Linked DNA regions of Homo sapiens: all the other regions are linked to region 3. The links are contacts of gene promoters, found by promoter capture Hi-C in blood cells and fetal thymus (Javierre and others, 2016). All regions are on one chromosome and are shown on one strand. The core of a region is centred on a gene start or on the middle of the fragment in contact, and the rest is flanking DNA. Distances in the headings are between cores, read along the strand shown.

Region 1 (3,635 bases), core at 806-3,305, 94 kb before region 3:
CCCTCAAAGTCATACATGGGGGCTGGAATCAACTTCTTCCAAATTATTATTAATGTTGATGTTTTGACCTCCTCCCCTTAATCACAAATGTTCTGTTTTGTTTTGTTTTTTGAGATGGAGTCTCACTCTGTCATCCAGGCTGGAGTGCAGTGGCGCGATCCTAGCTCACTGCAACCTCCGCCTCCCGGGTTCAGGTGATTCTCTGGTCTCAGCCTCCTGAGTAGCTGAGATTATGGGCAGGCACCATCACGCCTGGCTAACTTTTGTATTTTTAGTAGAGACAGGGTTTCACGATGTTGGCCAGGCTGGCCTTGAACTTTTGACTTAAGTGATCTGCCCACCTCAGCCTCCCAAAGTGCTGGGATTACAGGCGGGAGCCACCATGCCTGGCCACAGATATTCTTAATGGCATCTAGAATGGTGAATCCTTCCCAGAAGGTTTTCAATTTACTTTGCTCAGATCCGTCAGAGGAGTCACTGTGGCAGTTATAGCCTTACTGAAAGTTTTTCTTAAATAATAAAACTTGAAAGTTGAAATTACTCCTTGATCCACAGGCTGCAGAATGGATATTGTGTTATTAGGCATGAAAACGTTAATCTCCTTGTATATCTTCCTCAGAGTTCTTGGGTGACTAGGTACATTGTCATTGGGCAGTAATATTTTGAAAGAAATCTTTTTTCTGAGCAGCAAGTCTCAACGGTTGGCTTGAAATACCCAGTAAACCATGCTGTAAATCGATATGCTGTCATCTGAGCTTTGTTATTCCACTTATAGGGCACAGGCAGAGTAGATTTAGAATAATTCTTAAGGGCCCTAGGGTTTTCATTGAGCATTGGCTTCAACTAAAGTCACCAGCTGCATTAGCCTCTAATAAGAGTGTCAAGTGTCACCCTGGCCTTTGAAACTTTAAAGTCAGGCATGGACTTCTCCTCTCTAGCTATGAAAGTCCTAGATGGCATCTTTTTCCAACAGAAGGCTGTTTTGTCTACCCTGAAAATTTTTTGTTTAGTGTAGCTTGGCTAGGTCTTCTGGATAACTTGCTTCACTTCATAGTACTTGAAACCTCGTCTTGCACTTTTACATTATGGAGATGGCCTCTTTCCTTAAACTTTATGAGTCAACCTCTTCTAGCTTCCAACTTTTTCTGTGCAGCTTCCTCACCTCTCAGCCTACAGAGAATTGAAGAGAGTTGAGGTTTTGCTCTGGATTAGGCTTTGGCTTAAGGGAACGTTGTGGTTGGCTCGATCCTCTACCCAGACCACTAAAACTTTCTCTATCTCAGCAATACGGCTGTTTTGCTTTCTCATCATTTGCGTGTTTACTAGATTAGCACTTTTAATTTCTTTCAGGAACTTTTCCCTTGCACTCACAACTTGGCTCTTTGGCACAAGAGGCCTAGCTTTCCGCCTGTTTTGGCTTTTGACTGTATCTTCCTAACTAAGCTTAATCATTTCTGGCTTTTGATTGAAAATGAGAGATGTGTGACGTTTTTTCACTTGAATGCTTAGAGGCCACTGTAGGGTTATTAATTGGCCTAATTTCAATATTGTTTTGTCTCAAGGAATAGGGAAGGCCAAGGGAGGGTGAGAGATGGGGGAACGGTGAGTCACTGGAGCAGTCAGAATACACACAGCATATATTAAGTTCACTGTCTTATGTGGGCATGGTTTGTGACACCCCAAAACAATTACAATAGTAACATCAAGATCACAGATCACCGTGACAGATATAATAATAATGAAAAAGTTTAATGCAAGAATTACACAGAGACAAGAAGTGAGCACATGCCATTGGAAAAATGACACCAATAGACTTGCTTGACTCAAGGTAGCCACAAACTTAATTTGTAGAAAACACGCTATCTGAAGTGCAGTAAAGCAAAGCACAATAAAAACGAGGTATGCCTGTGCAAAGAGGGATCGTTCAGGCCATCTTAGAGGATATCATAGGATTTTTTTTAAAAAAAACTTTTTATGTGTGTATATCTTCTTAGTTTTTTAAAAGCAGCTCTAATGAGAAATAAATGACATACAAAAACCTGCTCATATTTAAAGTGTATTCTTTTATAACCTTTGGCATATGTATGTGTCCACGAAACTATCACCACAATCAAGGTAATTGAACATACCAATCAACCCTAAAAGTTTTTTTAATTCCCCTTTGTAAAATCATTCTCTTCCTTCCCTACACTGCTCCCCTCCTCCTATCCCCAGGAAACTTGCTTTGCTTTCTGCCACTATTCATTAGTTTGTATTTCCTAGAATTTTATATAGATGGCATCATGCCGTAGTGTGTACTTTCCCCCACCCCCAGCTTCTTTTACTCAATAAAATTATTTTAAGATTTACCCATGTTGCTTTATGTATTCATTCATTTCTGTTGCTGAGTGGAATTTCAGTGTATGAATATACAACAGTTTATTGATGAACATATAGGTATTAAGCTCTTTTATTGAATGCATAGACATTAAGGATTATGTGCCCTTGATGTATTTATCATTATGAAATGACTTATTTATTCCAGGTAATATTCTTTGTTCTGGTGTTACATAGGAACTCTTTCTTTTGAGTAACTCTTTCTATAGGAAATCTTTTTTTTTTTTTAATAGTAGCATGGCATATCTTTTTCTGTTTACTTTTAATCTTTTTGTATTTTCATATTTAGAGTAAGCTTCTTACATATAGTTGGGACTTGCTTTTTTTGTATAATCTGACAATTTCTGCCTTTTAATTAGGGTGTCTAGACCATTTACATTTAGTGTGATTACCTATGTAGTTATGTTAAATCTGCCATCTTATCTCAACTAGTCTCAAAGTTACTTGAGGACAAGAACTGTGTTTTATTTATTCAACAAATAATTATTGAGCCTCAAGTACTTACCTTCTTACCAGACAATCATTTCTTCCTAAAACTAGGCATAATGGGGGCTGATTCAGCATTTCTTGGTTGACTTCAGAGAAATTCTTTGCATTTGAGGGAAAAGGTCAAATATACGGTTTTTATTTCTTTACTTCTGGATTTCACATAATTTCTACTTAGAAAGTGGGGAAGCTTGCCAAATCTTAATAGAAGTAAGCAAGGAATTCTTGTTAGTACAGTGAATCTAGCTTTTAAAAAATTGAGCTTAATGTCAGTGTTTATTAATTCTGAATGAGAGAATTGGCATCCAGTGTATTTTGTGACATGGCCCTCTTTCCCCACTCTCACGTACCGGAGATCAAAGCTTAATCTGACACACCTGCTCATAAGTTGAAGTCACATCAGAGGCTAACACATAGGTAGATCCTATACCTCCTGTTCTAAGCAGTCCAGAAATAAATGAAGAGCAAGGTTTTGATACGTCATTTCTAAAAGGTTGATAGCCCTTGGCATTTGCTATAGATAACTATTTTTTTAACTCAAATAAAATGACCCTAATGCCATTTCGCAGACCTAAACCTACTTTAATCTTTCACTGGATGTTGAGAAGTCATGAGAGTATCACCCTGTGCCCCTCAGCCATTGTTCTGAAGATCACTTATCATTTTAGAGAAGCAATATGGCTTCATGGAAAGAGTAGTAGTTAGAAAGCAGACATGGATGGAAATCACAGCTTCACTTCTTGACCAGCTGTACAATATTAGAAAAATATCTT
Region 2 (3,604 bases), core at 52-2,551, 70 kb after region 3:
TGTGGGCAGTTGGGTGTGGGGGTAAGATCAGGAGCTCAGTTTCACACCTGTTGAGTTTTGGGATGTCTTTTCGACATTCCAGAGCACATGTGGATGGGCAGTTGGGAAGGGTGCTGGGCTAGAGATGTAAATTTGGGGTGGTGTTTACAGCCTTCACGTTGGATCAGATAAGCATTGAGTCATTTTAGATTGCTTAGAAAAGAGGACCAGGGTCTGGAGCCTGGGGTGTCTCTGCATTCAGAAGGGTGGTAGAGGAGACTGAGAGGTGGCCAGCGAGTTAGGGGAAGTGAAGCAACATAACAAAACCAATTATTTAAAAGCTAACTTTTGTTAGCTTTTAAATAATTTATTAATGTGGAAATATGCTGTTTGAATCAAAAAAAGAAATAACTATAAGCTGTATTTAGGAAGAGTGTACCTTCCTATTGCTCTTGAGTTTTCAAAAAGCACATCGTTCTGAACATCTTTAATATTCTCACAGGTTCAGAACCATTTTGGAGAGTCAGGCAAAAGGAAAGTGTCTGATATTCTACTCATCCTAACGTTGCTGTTAATATTTTGGTATTTGCCTTCTCATTTTCCTTTGTATATTTTTTTTAGTTGTAATCTTGTTGCACACAGCAGCTTTGTTTCCTTTTGTTTACTTGTCACGGCAACGGCAGCACTTTTTTCATGTTGCTGTTTACAATCTTCAAAACACAATTTTTATTGGAGCGCTCTGCTTCTTTTGGAATGGGTATTTATTGAGAGAAGGATTGAATGGACAAAACCACGTTGCTACCAGCTGATCTTTGCTTTTCCCTGCCTTCCTGCACATCTGCATAGGATTCATACCGTGCTTTGTCTGGGGATGGAGAATGCTGGAAAGACAGGGGAAGTTGTTAGGATCTGGGCTGAAAATCCAGGAGCAAGACTGGGGCAGACCTGGCCACTGGGGGGGTTAACAAGCTGCTGATGGGGCAGAGGGAGTGAGGGCCTGTGGAGAGGGACTCCTGGGCTTGAGGGACCACGCAGGGCCATTCTTTCTTTTGCAGACATCTTCAGCAATAACACTTCAGTGCCTCAAGGGTTTGAAAGAAGAATTACAATTTAAAAGGAAAACTCTTCATGTATGATTTGCATATGAGTGGCATCTGTATAATTAAGAACAATTAAGTTCCCTGAGCTGAATTGAAAGGGAGGCTCCTGCTTCAGTTGCTGCAGTGCCTGCAGTGCAGCCTCTAGCTGTCAGGGCACTGGAGTTCTGTTGGAGGCATTCTGCCCACCTCCCCACAACCTCTAATAAAAGAAATCCTGAAACACTTTGCTGGGTGCTTGGCAAAACTCTTTACAAACACATTTCATTTAATCCTCACAATGGATTTAGGGGGTCTGTGTCAGTCAGATTCTCTAGAGGGACAGAACTGACAGAATCGATCGATCTATCTAGCTATCTGTCTTGTCTGTCTGTCTGTCTATCTATCTCCCTCCCTCCCTCCCTCCCTTCTATGTATATATATAAAGGGGAGTTTATTACAAAGTATTAAACTCACCCGATCACAAGGTCCAATAGGTTGTCTGCAAGCTGAGGAGCAAGGAAACCAGTCCGAGTCCCAAAGCTGAAGAACTTGGGAGTCTGATGTTCCAGGGCAGGAAGCATCCAGCACGGGAGAAAGCATAGGAAAAAGATGTTGGCTGGGAGGCTAAGCCAGTCTAGCCTTTTCATGCTTTTCTGCCTGCTTTATATCCTGGCTGCGCTGGCAGCTGATTAGATGGTGCCCACCCAGATTAAGGGTGGGTCTGCCTTTCCCAGCCCACTGACTCAAATGTTAATCTCCTTTGGCAACACCCTCACGGACACACCCAGGATCAATACTCTGCATCCTTCAATCAAGTTGATACTCAGTATTAACCATCACAGGGTCTTACCTTAATTTTATAATAGTGGAAACTGAACTTCTGATCACAAGAGCATTAGATGATCTCTTGTACTCATCTTTATGGTTAACTCCACCTTTGTAGATTGTTCCTGATTGGGACCCAGTGAACCTGTTACAGGAAAGAGGTTCTGATCTAGACCCCAAGAGAGAGTTCTTGAATCTCACACAAGAAAGAATTCAAGGCAAGTCCATAGTGCAAAGCAAAAGCAGGTTTATTAAGAAAGTAAACGAATGAAAGAATGGCTACTCCATAGTCAGAACAGCCCTGAGGGCTGCTGGTTGCCCATTTTCATGGTTATTTCTTGATGATATGCTAAATAAGGGGTGGATTATTTATGCCTCCCCTTTTTTGACCGTATAGGGTAACATACTGATGTTGCCATGGCATTTGTAAACTGTCATGGCGCTGGTGGAGTGTAGCAGTGAGGACAACCAGAGGTCGCTCTTGTGGCCATCTTGGTTTTGGTGGGTTTCGGCCGGCTTCTTTACTGCAACCTGTTTCATCAGCAAGGCCTTTATGACCTGTATCTTGTGCTGACCTCTTATCTCATCCAAGACTTAGAATGCCTTAACTGTCTGGGAATGCAGCCCAGTAGGTTTCAGCCTCGTTTTACCCAGCTCCTATTTAAGATGGAGTTGCTCTGGTTCAAAAGCCTCTGACAAACCTGTAGGAATTTAGCCTCATTGTTTCTTCCACTGCTGTGTTATATCTGATGGACTCCTTTCTCCCTAGACTAACTGGGAAGCAAGATGCAACTTTCCCTGATTTTTTCTCTTCTGATTTTGCAAGAACTCTGCAGTTTCACACAACACTGAACAACTTTAAGTAGAGCGGGAACACAAGTATTTTCCCTTGTAAGGTTCCTGCCAGCCACCCCACAGGAAGGAGGTAATGTGTATCGGTATTTGAGGATGTTTTAAGCAATCTTCAAAGAGTAGGATAATTCTTACCCCTTGCCTTCCCTGAAATGTAAATGGCAGTGGTTCTTATTGACTATGCTCCTTCCAGGACTTTGTTCCTTCCAGGTGGGGATGTCACCTGTGTGCTCCTTCTAGCACCTCTTTTCTTTCTGGTGTGGCCACATCAGTCTGGAATACCCTCCCACCTTTGGTTCCCTGAAGCATCTCATGGAGGTCCTTGTACGTCCCTGCAGGTCTAGTTACGAAGCAGAAGGATAGGCTCTAAACCAGTCACATGCAGGCACTTCCCAGTTTACATCAGTGCAGGGCCAAAGCCACCCTAGGCCCCCACCAGAACCAATGGGTTTTCCCAGTGAAAGACAGCAGGAACCATCCTTTCCATACTTAGGATTTTCTTTGTTTTACCATCAGATTTGGGTTATGTTTGAGTGACTTTTATTGCTTCAGCCACTTAGCTTTCTGGTTTATTGGGATGCTCTGCTTCTGGCCGCCCTGAAAGGCTGGCACTGCTGAAAAACCCGCCTCCCTCAGGGCAAGCAGGGGCTGGAGTGATGAGGCCATGTAGTATTAGTTCCGCTGAGCAGCTGCTGCTGGCAATTTCTGGTGTTGGAAAAGAATGGGAAGCTGTTCCAGTTAGAATTAAAGCTTACATCTTAAGAGAGTGTTTTCTCTCTCCTGAGAGAGTCTGCAGATATGCAGCCGCTGGCTCCAGGAAGTCTTTAGGGACCCCACGTCGCCTTCCCCAGGGTACTGGGATCTCCTAC
Region 3 (3,525 bases), core at 360-2,859:
GTCACTGGAGGTCCCTTTAACTGCGTGGGGGACCTTCAGAATCCAAGGGGCAAATAGAAACTTGGAGAAGTGAAGAGAAAAAAAGGGCACATTGAGATGGCACTGGAGATCCTTGCTAAATAAAGGAAGATGTTGGCAAGGAATACAGAAAAAAGTATGAAACAGAGACTACTGGAGGTATTCAAGTTGGAAAATGCAAAGTGTCCCTTTTTTTTTTTCACATCAACAACTTACGTTTATGCTAATCTACTTAAATGTTAAGTCTGGCCAAGCAATTAGACTATTTAACCTTGTTTGGAGTTAAATGCAGACAGTGTGTGAGACTGTGTTCACAGTACTGTATTACGTCTTTAGGAAAGAGGATCTAGATTTCATTTTGTCCTTCTCAGGATTGTGTCTGCTATGCAAGCACTGGTTTTCTATAGTCTGGCTTGTAAGGCACAAGGAGCAATTAAACAGAGGATTAAGGTAAACAGGTGTGTCCCATCACTTCCCCTCTTCATACTATATTGTTCATATTCTCTGAATTTCATACAAGCTACAGTGGAAGCAGTAAGTTAACTTTAAAAAATCATAAGATTGCCCATACTTCTAGGTTATGCAAATTGATTTCTGAATAAGCCCTTGTTTGCGACATCGCTGGTAAAGGCAGGATGTTAACTTAAAGAGATGCCAGATTTTGGACTTGTTAGTTATAGGCATCAAAACCTGGAACTAGGAAATGTATTTCCACGTATTACTTCCATTATCCTACTAATGTTAGAAACAGGCAACTAACCACATCCTCGACCCCAACCATATTTCAGGAGAGGCTGGCTGAATTTTGCAATATGATTCCAAAAGGGAGTATTTGCAGGGTCTTTGAAGCTATAAATCCCCTAGGAAGAGTCTTCCCCACCTGTCAGGACCTGGACAGTGTCCACAGAGGGTGCCGGGCGCACTACCGCCACGCGGCGCTGAGGTCTGCCTCTCGGGTTTTGGGAGAGCTCTTTTTATTCTAAATTACAGACTTTGCAGCCACCGGATATCCTCGCTGCATAACTGGCAGTGGCCATGTGGCTGCACTCGCGTTTCCTGACAACCACTGCATTATTTCCACTAATATCCTGTGTCCAAGGCCTCTCGCTTGGCGACTCCTCGTTCCCACCTCCACCGCCACCTCTTCCCTCGAGGGTAATCTCTCGACCGTGGCCCAAGCGCCTCGACAAAGCGGCAACCACCCAAAAGTTCATGAAAATGCACTTGGCAAAAGTGGGCCGCTAGTCCCCGCGGACAGCTCTAAGCGACCCCGTCCCAGCCGAGGAAAGCGCCCGGGCCCCGCAGAGTGCGCGCTGCGGGGCGGGCCCGCGGCCATGTGCTCCGCGCCGGGGCGGGGCACCCGCGGGTTCGCATTGTCCACTTTCCCCCGCACCCCGCCGCGTTCCGTCCCTCCCTATCTGCGGCGCACACGCGCTCAGAGCAAGCGGCGCGCCCGGGTCTGGAGCTGCAGCAGCTGCGGCAGCGGCGGGGGTGGTGCGGCGCGGGGCGGGGCGGGGCGGGGCGGGGCGGGGCGGGGCGGCACGGGGGCGGGCCCGGGGCGAGGCAGCTGGGGCGCCAGCGAGCTAGCGGCGAGCGCGGCGAGCAACGGAGAGGAGCGCGAGCAGCAGCATGGCGGGGCTCCGACGCCCGCAGCCCGGCTGCTACTGCCGCACCGCGGCGGCCGTGAACCTCCTGCTGGGCGTCTTCCAGGTCCTGCTGCCCTGCTGTCGCCCGGGAGGGGCTCAGGGACAAGGTCAGCCTTGCGCCGCTGGGCTCGCTCTGCCTCTCCACCCCGCCCCCGCTCTTTCTTTTAGGGAACTGCTGAAATCTATAAGAGGGCGAGGGGAGGAAAGGGAAAGGGGCAGGAGGAGGAAGGAAAGCTGTTGCGATTCTCCGCTGATAACATTTTCTGACCACAGCGTCCCGTCCCGCGCCTCTCTGCCCCGTACAGCTGGAGAGCGGGGCAGTCGCGGGGCTTGGGGACCGCTAGCCGCTCGCGCCCTGGAGCCTTTGTGCGCGGGCCCCTGCGCCCCGGGCGCAGCCCCCGCTTTGTGTGGCGCGCGCGGGTGCCCCGCAGCGGCCCGGCTTCCTGCAGCTTTGTTCCCCCGAGCCTGGCCGCCCAGGGTCCACACTCCAGATGCTCGGGCTGCGGAGCCCGGAGTGCCTCGTGGGGTGTCTTCACTCCCACTTCGTCCCCCCACCCCCAGCACGAGCACCCCGAGCCTGCCTGCACGCTGTCGCCTTCGCGTCCGAGGGGCCGCCGGCTCACACCCCACCCATTGTATTTTTATCCTTGGCTCGCCCCTGGGATGGCCTCTGTTCCCAGGAGGAAAAAGAGACGTGTTTTGGTGAGGCGGGGGGCACGGAGGGACGGTAGGGGAAACAGGAAGCGTTTCTTTAGCGTGCATTAAAAACGTGGTGTATTTTTTGGTGTTCCTGCAGCGATTGAGCCGTTGCCGAACGTGGTGGAGCTGTGGCAGGCAGAAGAAGGGGAACTCCTGCTGCCCACTCAGGTGAGGACGACCAGGTGACAGGGCGGCTGTGGGTGTACGAGGGAGGAGAGGCGGGGAGGCCCCCGGTCCTCCCCACCCCCTGTCCAAGCGGCACAGGCGTTCGGGCCACTTTGCAAGGCAAATAAACGTTAGGGGCCGAGCCTGAACACCTGGCAACGGTGGCCTTCCCGGCTCCTCCCACGCCATGTGACAGGGCCTGAGGCAGGCCGGCCCCAAGTTCAGAAGGTGGGAACCCAGGCCACCTCAGCAGGGAAGCGGCCAGCGGTCTGTTCGGCCGTGGGTGTCCTGGGTGCACACTGTTCCCTAAGTGAGCTGGTGCTGTGTGGATGGCAAGTGGCTAAGAGGTTGAGGACAACAGGAGTATTGATTTCATAAATGTTAGAGTGGTATTTGCCATTAGCGTTAAGTAGCTTTGGGATGGAGATGTGACTCTCAAGGATTGTCATCTTGGATTTTCTCCAAGTGCCCTTAATTCCTGTTAAAATACACCCACTTAAGAACTTGAATTTCTGGTTTTTTTCTCTGTATGATGATATGATGATTGCGTGTAGAAAAATAATTACTGACGTTTTATTGGGAATCTGTAGCATCATAGAGGGTTTATTGCTGCAACAGATACAGTACTGCAAAGCTTTTAACTTTTACAAGAAATTCCCATTGACTGTGAAGTGTGCACATTTAAATATAATGTTGTTGACTGCCTTTCACCAGTAACGGTAGTGATCCAAAATGCATTTTTTGGGTGGGAGTGGCTTGAATTATAAGGAAATATTTAGCTTGTGTGCAGTACTTTTTAAGATGTTCATTACTTCCCACGGTGGTGGCAGCACTTAATTCTGTGTTGTGTCTTGCGGCTGTTTAGAAAAACAGGATGTCTAGCTATAACTTTACCGGAGAGGCTGTCCAGTTTTACATTTCAGTTTTCTCCCTCCTATGTGAAACATTCAGAGTGCTGGTTTTGAGATATTTAGAATATTCATTTTGATCAGGGCTA

The links. Contacts are between HindIII fragments. The CHiCAGO score rates a contact against its expected background, and 5 or more counts as called.
Region 1: a fragment that was not itself captured here is called in contact with the fragment with the promoter of TMEM131L in region 3 in 1 of 17 cell types (activated CD4 T cells); the score reaches 5.5 in activated CD4 T cells.
Region 2: a fragment that was not itself captured here is called in contact with the fragment with the promoter of TMEM131L in region 3 in 6 of 17 cell types (activated CD4 T cells, non-activated CD4 T cells, naive CD4 T cells and 3 more); the score reaches 13.9 in activated CD4 T cells.

Annotation. Positions count from the first base shown.
Region 1 is chr4:153,370,427-153,374,061 of GRCh38, forward strand. The region is part of intron 4 of MND1 (meiotic nuclear divisions 1); the gene reads left to right. Among named protein-coding and RNA genes, the nearest start is that of MND1, 28 kb to the left of the region's middle. The HindIII fragment of the contact is 1,228 bases long and covers 1,442-2,669 here.
Region 2 is chr4:153,535,258-153,538,861 of GRCh38, forward strand. All of the region lies in intron 3 of TMEM131L (transmembrane 131 like), which reads left to right. It overlaps LOC105377498 (a long non-coding RNA gene), which reads right to left. Exons shown (of 3, transcript XR_939363.3): 2 at 1,533-1,615. Among named protein-coding and RNA genes, the nearest start is that of TMEM131L, 71 kb to the left of the region's middle. RefSeq lists enhancers at 1-312, 827-1,332. The HindIII fragment of the contact is 4,363 bases long and covers 1-3,483 here.
Region 3 is chr4:153,464,751-153,468,275 of GRCh38, forward strand. It overlaps TMEM131L (transmembrane 131 like), which reads left to right and starts at 1,610. Exons shown (of 35, transcript NM_001131007.2): 1 at 1,610-1,771; 2 at 2,461-2,531. The coding sequence starts at 1,648. RefSeq lists enhancers at 1,071-1,250, 2,621-3,286, 2,781-2,870, 3,241-3,300 and silencers at 1,291-1,440, 1,481-1,580, 1,951-2,310. The HindIII fragment of the contact is 8,794 bases long and covers 1-3,160 here.